2 separate regions of the Homo sapiens genome follow, and region 1 is linked to region 2. The links are contacts of gene promoters, found by promoter capture Hi-C in human tissues and cell types (Jung and others, 2019). All regions are on one chromosome and are shown on one strand. Each heading gives the region's core, a stretch centred on a gene start or on the middle of the fragment in contact. The rest is flanking DNA. Distances are from core to core; before and after follow the strand shown.

Evidence for each region. The method cuts DNA at HindIII sites, captures the fragments that hold promoters and counts their contacts. A contact is called where the count stands out against the background at its distance.
Region 1: the fragment with the promoter of IFNA13 here is called in contact with the fragment with the promoter of IFNA14 in region 2 in 1 of the 25 tissues and cell types used here (neural progenitor cells).

Annotation. Positions count from the first base shown.
Region 1 is chr9:21,366,423-21,369,922 of GRCh38, reverse strand. IFNA13 (interferon alpha 13) reads left to right here and starts at 1,866. Exons shown (of 1, transcript NM_006900.4): 1 at 1,866-2,551. The coding sequence starts at 1,913. The coding sequence ends at 2,485. The HindIII fragment of the contact is 15,253 bases long and covers 1-3,500 here.
Region 2 is chr9:21,237,900-21,241,279 of GRCh38, reverse strand. It overlaps IFNA14 (interferon alpha 14), which reads left to right and starts at 1,275. Exons shown (of 1, transcript NM_002172.3): 1 at 1,275-2,278. The coding sequence starts at 1,345. The coding sequence ends at 1,914. The HindIII fragment of the contact is 10,904 bases long and covers 1-3,380 here.

The DNA.
Region 1 (3,500 bases), core at 617-3,116, 130 kb before region 2:
AAGAAGAAAAAAACTGACCTTCTAAGTTTACTTATCCAATAGTGGAGAGCTTGGTGCAATGAACACTGACCCATTTTCCAGAGAGAATATTGTACTCTCAAAAATTTCTCTTTCTTGTGTATAAACTCTTGCAGTTGGTATATTTGCAAGATGGGGTTCGGTAAATCTGAAAACACACTGTGGACCAGGAGTAATTACTTTTCTTCCAGCCCATACTTACGTGTTACCTTGACCTACATCCCTTCTACTATTTTGCTTCTGTTCTTTCCCACCCCTTAACCTCCACTATGTTGGTCAGGCTGGTCTCAAACTCCCAACCTCAGATGATCCGTCTGCCTCGGCCTCTCAAAGTGCTGGCATTACACATGTGAGCCACGACGCCCGGCCACTTGTGTTATCTTTTTGTTCCCATTAGTTAGGATGCAAAAAGTGACAACTTTTGCTTTCTATGAAAATGAAATGAGAAAGAAAGATATCTGGTGTCTGGCATGCTATGTAAAACAATTGTCTACTTATTTATGTTATTATATTTACATCCTATTATGCGCATCTAGGACAAAGATAGTTTCCTTTAGTTTGCTAGGAATCAGCAAAGAACCTCTGAAGGCACCTTGGAAATTTGAACTTTCATGCAAAAAATTTTTAATCAAATCGAGGATGTTTTTTCAATTGTGTATTCTCATTGCATATGATACTACTCCCAAGGATGTAGAAGTTAGTTCTTGGGAGTGGGAACAAATCTTACATATTTAAATGGTTTGTGGCCCTTCAAAGCTCAACCTATTTAACAAAATCTTATTCCTTAGTTTTTTTTTTTTTCTCTCCATTGGGTTTTCTTGTGTATCACATGAGAAGCACTGACATTGAGTTCATGGAAGATACACAAAAGGTATAAAAGTTCAGCATTACAAACCTATGGCAAATGGGTAGCTGTGATTGGAGTACTTTCCAAGATGTATTAGATCTCAAAGTCATATCATGAGAGGTGTCCTCTGCATACATATGGTTTGTCACTGGCCATCTTATAGATATTGCTTATGTTTGATCCTTAGCATTTCTGTCTGTGTTGTGGGCTTTGAAATGAAATATAAATAATTTATATTTTAACAATTCTACTGAAGTTGTTCAACACATCTATATTTAGGTCAAGAATTGAAGAAAAAATTCTTCACACTCTCTAGGTGAGTATCTAGCAGCTAGTGAAGTTAAAAATTTTCTCACATGCAACAAAATTAAAAGTTAAGTATAATAAAAATAAATGATAAAAATATTTTAAATTATTAAGTCTTTATCAGTTTCAAATAATTCATAAACATTCATTACTTAGCTGTATAATGTTTATCTAGAAACATTAGATAATGTTTATAATTTGTTAAATTTCTTATGTAATTTAATACATTACAATTTATATCAGTAAATAAACTATATTGAAGCCCACAAGCAAATTTAGTTATAAAGTTAAGTTAAATTTGAATAGCGTTTAAATTTAACTTTTATCTTAAAATTTTCATTTGGTTATTTTTAAACTTGCATTGAATAAAATGATTAAACTTTGTACTTTTTGAGTATAGAGATATACATATAGTACACAAATAGATAGATATTATATCTGTGTTATTAAATTTTCACGGTGGGTTCAATTAGGAAAAAAAATCTAAAAAGTCTCTGGGAACAAGATGGGGGAGACAATAATGAAAAACAAAATGGTTGAGAAACACGGCTCTAAACTCATGTAAAGAGTTCAAGAAGGAAAGCAAAAACAGAAATGGAAAGTGGTCCAGAAGCATTAAGAAAGTGGAAATCAGTATGTTCCCTATTTAAGGCATCTGCAGGAAGCAAAGCCTTCAGAGAACCTAGAGCCCAAGGTTCAGAGTCACCCATCTCAGCAAGCCCAGAAGCATCTGCAATATCTATGATGGCCTCGCCCTTTGCTTTACTGATGGCCCTGGTGGTGCTCAGCTGCAAGTCAAGCTGCTCTCTGGGCTGTGATCTCCCTGAGACCCACAGCCTGGATAACAGGAGGACCTTGATGCTCCTGGCACAAATGAGCAGAATCTCTCCTTCCTCCTGTCTGATGGACAGACATGACTTTGGATTTCCCCAGGAGGAGTTTGATGGCAACCAGTTCCAGAAGGCTCCAGCCATCTCTGTCCTCCATGAGCTGATCCAGCAGATCTTCAACCTCTTTACCACAAAAGATTCATCTGCTGCTTGGGATGAGGACCTCCTAGACAAATTCTGCACCGAACTCTACCAGCAGCTGAATGACTTGGAAGCCTGTGTGATGCAGGAGGAGAGGGTGGGAGAAACTCCCCTGATGAATGCGGACTCCATCTTGGCTGTGAAGAAATACTTCCGAAGAATCACTCTCTATCTGACAGAGAAGAAATACAGCCCTTGTGCCTGGGAGGTTGTCAGAGCAGAAATCATGAGATCCCTCTCTTTATCAACAAACTTGCAAGAAAGATTAAGGAGGAAGGAATAACACCTGGTCCAACATGAAACAATTCTTATTGACTCATATACCAGGTCACGCTTTCATGAATTCTGCCATTTCAAAGACTCTCACTTCTGCTATAACTATGACCATGCTGATAAACTGATTTATCTATTTAAATATTTATTTAGCTATTCATAAGATTTAAATTATTTTTGTTCATATAACATCATGTGCATCTTTACACTGTGGTTAGTGTAATAAAACATGTTCCTTATATCTACTCAATTCATTATTTTATGTTGTTCATTAAACTTTTACTATAGGAACTTCCTGTATGTGTTCATTCTTTAATACAAAATTCCTAGCCTGACTGTGCAACCTGATGAGAGAATAAAGGGTATAATTTATTTACTCATCATTATTATATGAGAGATGTAAGTAAAAATGACCTTTCTCTAAACCAGGTTGTATGTTGTACTCAAGTTATAAAGGTGAATACAATAAATCTACTTCCTACTCTCTTGCATGTTTGATTTTTGTATGGAATAAAACTAAAAATAGTAATCATACTTAGTATCAGTTATCCTGAATACTATAAGGAGAAAAAGGAATGAACAATGATTTCTTTCGGCAGGAGGTAAACTGAAACATGTGAGGAAATAAAAATAAACAGATATCCTCTATAAGTTGACTGATACAACATGTGGTAGAAACTGTCTATTGCCAGTTGGATATGTGAGTTTGCAAATTATAAGGAATGCAATTGCTGGGAGTTCATATGTGGCAAGCAAAATCCCAGAAATGAAAGTGCTCATGTGTGGAGAGAGTGTAGACAGAGAAAAGGACTTAAACGTGATTCTAAGGACCTTCCACCTTTAAAGGGAAGGAAGAGAAGAGCCACAAAGGAAACAGAGGGATGGACAAATAGAGACAATGGTGATTAATATGGTCTGGAACTGTGTCTCTGCCTAAATCTCAGGCAGACCAGCCTCTAGAATGTATGTGTGTGTGTGTGTGTGTGTGTATGTGTGTGTGTGTGTATATATATACGTACATATAT
Region 2 (3,380 bases), core at 26-2,525:
GACATTGAGTTCATGGAAGATACACACAAGGTATATAAGATCAGCGTTACAAACCTATGTCAAATGGGTGCTGTGATTGGAGGAATTTCTAAGGTTTACTAGACATCAAAGTCATAACATCTGAGGTGGCCTCTGTATACATATGGGCTGTCATTAGCCATCTTGTGAATGTTGCTTATGTTTAATCCTTAGCATTTCTGACTGTGCTGTGGGCTTTCAGAATTAAATGCAAATACTTTATATTTTATTATTTAATTCTACTAAAGGTGCTCAATACATCAATAATTATGTCAAGCACTGAAGAGAAAAAAATCTATACAATATCTGGATGAATATCTAGCAGCTAGTGAAGTTAAACATTTTCTAACATGACAGAAAATTAAGTTAGACTAAAAGTAAATGTTAAAAAATTAAATTTTAGTAGTCTTTAGCAGTTTTAAATGATTTTTAAGTATTTTATAATATTAGGTATTATTATGTGTTTTTATAATTTGTTAATTTGCTGATGGAATTGGACACATTACAATTTATATAGGTAAATAAATCATTTTAAAGACACAAACAAATTGAGTTAAATGTCCATGGGTTTTAAATTTAACTATTAACTTTTAGCTTAAAAATTTCATTTGGTCTTCTTTTTTTCTTTCTTTCTTTTTTTTTTTGAGATGGAGACTCGCTCTGTCACCCAGGCTGGAGTGCAATGTTGCAATCTTGGCTCACTGCAACCACTGCCTCCCGGGTTCAAGCAATTCTCCTGCTCCAGCCACCTGAGTAGCTAGGATTACAGGCACCTGCCACCATGCCCGACTAATTTTTGTATTTTTAGCAGAGACGGGGTTTCACCATGTTGGCAAGTCTGGTCTTGAACTGCTGACCTCGTGATCCATCTGCCTTGGTCTCCCAAAGTGCTGGAATTACAAGTGTGAGCCACCGGGCCCAGCCCATTTGGTCATTCTTAACACTATGTTAAATAAAAAGATTAAACTTTACACTCCTTATAAATAGATATGTACAGTATATCAACAAATATATGGTATGTCTGTGTTATTAAAATTTAATGGGACTTTGAATTAGAAAGAAATTTCTAAAAAGCCCATGGGGCAGGGAAAGATGAGGTAATACTGAAAATAAAAGTGGTTGAGAAACTGCTCTACACCCATGTAGACAGGACATAAAGGAAAGCCAAAAGAGAAGTAGAAAAAAACATGAAGACGTTCAGAAAATGGAAGCTAGTATGTTCCTTATTTAAGACCTATGCACAGAGCAAGGTCTTCAGAAAACCTACAACCCAAGGTTCAGTGTTACCCCTCATCAACCAGCCCAGCAGCATCTTCGGGATTCCCAATGGCATTGCCCTTTGCTTTAATGATGGCCCTGGTGGTGCTCAGCTGCAAGTCAAGCTGCTCTCTGGGCTGTAATCTGTCTCAAACCCACAGCCTGAATAACAGGAGGACTTTGATGCTCATGGCACAAATGAGGAGAATCTCTCCTTTCTCCTGCCTGAAGGACAGACATGACTTTGAATTTCCCCAGGAGGAATTTGATGGCAACCAGTTCCAGAAAGCTCAAGCCATCTCTGTCCTCCATGAGATGATGCAGCAGACCTTCAATCTCTTCAGCACAAAGAACTCATCTGCTGCTTGGGATGAGACCCTCCTAGAAAAATTCTACATTGAACTTTTCCAGCAAATGAATGACCTGGAAGCCTGTGTGATACAGGAGGTTGGGGTGGAAGAGACTCCCCTGATGAATGAGGACTCCATCCTGGCTGTGAAGAAATACTTCCAAAGAATCACTCTTTATCTGATGGAGAAGAAATACAGCCCTTGTGCCTGGGAGGTTGTCAGAGCAGAAATCATGAGATCCCTCTCTTTTTCAACAAACTTGCAAAAAAGATTAAGGAGGAAGGATTGAAAACTGGTTCATCATGGAAATGATTCTCATTGACTAATACATCATCTCACACTTTCATGAGTTCTTCCATTTCAAAGACTCACTTCTCCTATAACCACCACAAGTTGAATCAAAATTTTCAAATGTTTTCAGGAGTGTAAAGAAGCATCATGTATACCTGTGCAGGCACTAGTCCTTTACAGATGACCATGCTGATGTCTCCTTTCATCTATTTATTTAAATATTTATTTATTTAACTATTTTTATTATTTAAATTATTTTTTATGTAATATCATGTGTACCTTTACATTGTGGTTAATATAACAAATATGTTCTTCATATTTAGCCAATATATTAATTTCCTTTTTCATTAAATTTTTACTATACAAAATTTCTTGTGTTTGGTTATTTTTTAAGATAAAACGTCAAGCCTGACTGTACAACCTGATTTCAAAATAGATGATTTAATCAAGTTACCTATCATAATTTTATTCAAGTTATAGAAAAATACATTTTCTATACCAGGTTATATGTTGCCTTAAGGATGTAAACATGAATATAAAAAATACAGCTCCTGTTCTCTTGTATCTTTGATTTTTGTCAGGAAATAAATCTAAAAACAATAATAATGCTGAATTAATATCAGTTATACAAACTGCTGTATGGTAACGAAGTAAAAAAGCAATGAATTCTTCTTAGCACAAGGTAGATTGAGACATGTCTGGAAAAAAAAGTAGAGATAAACTGACTTTCAAACATGTAATTGAAAATGTACATTGCCAGTCAGATATATGAGTTTGCAGTTTCCAAGGAATACGATATCTGGAAGTTCATAACTGGCAATGGAAAGGCCAAAAATGAAGGCTGTCATGTGGGGAGGAAGTGGAGAGGGAAAAAAGACTTAAACTGGATTCTGAGGACCTTCCACCATTAAAGTGTGGGAACAGAAGAGACACAAAGAAAACAGAGGTGGAATACCTCAATATTAGAAGGAGAAGAGGGAATGATGATAAAAGTGTATTTAGAAAACAAACATGCTTATAAAAAGAATCAATAGACTTATAGAAAATGTGAATTAAAACTGAGCACTACAGGAAGAAAATAGATGGCAATGCAGAGATTACTGAGAGCTGGATTGATAGAATTAATCAGCAGAAGCCATACTGGGGTAGGTAGAAGAATCAATGAGAAAAGAAAAATCAGGATAACACATACAGAAAATTGTGAAAGATCTGCCTTTGCAATGGAGGGAAGTAATAAGTTGGACCCGCCAAAAATGTGGATTATCTTTTATCTGCATAGTGTTTCCTTTTTGAAAATACATGTCAATGAATAAATTTCATAAATGTGATGCACTGATAAATCATATTAATACATTTAATATTTTATATATTTAAAGCATAAAATGTAAAATTATTTACAATAGTAATTGATCATTATTTTGATTAATACTCTGTTAAATGTCAGTAAAAACTGACACATTTCTT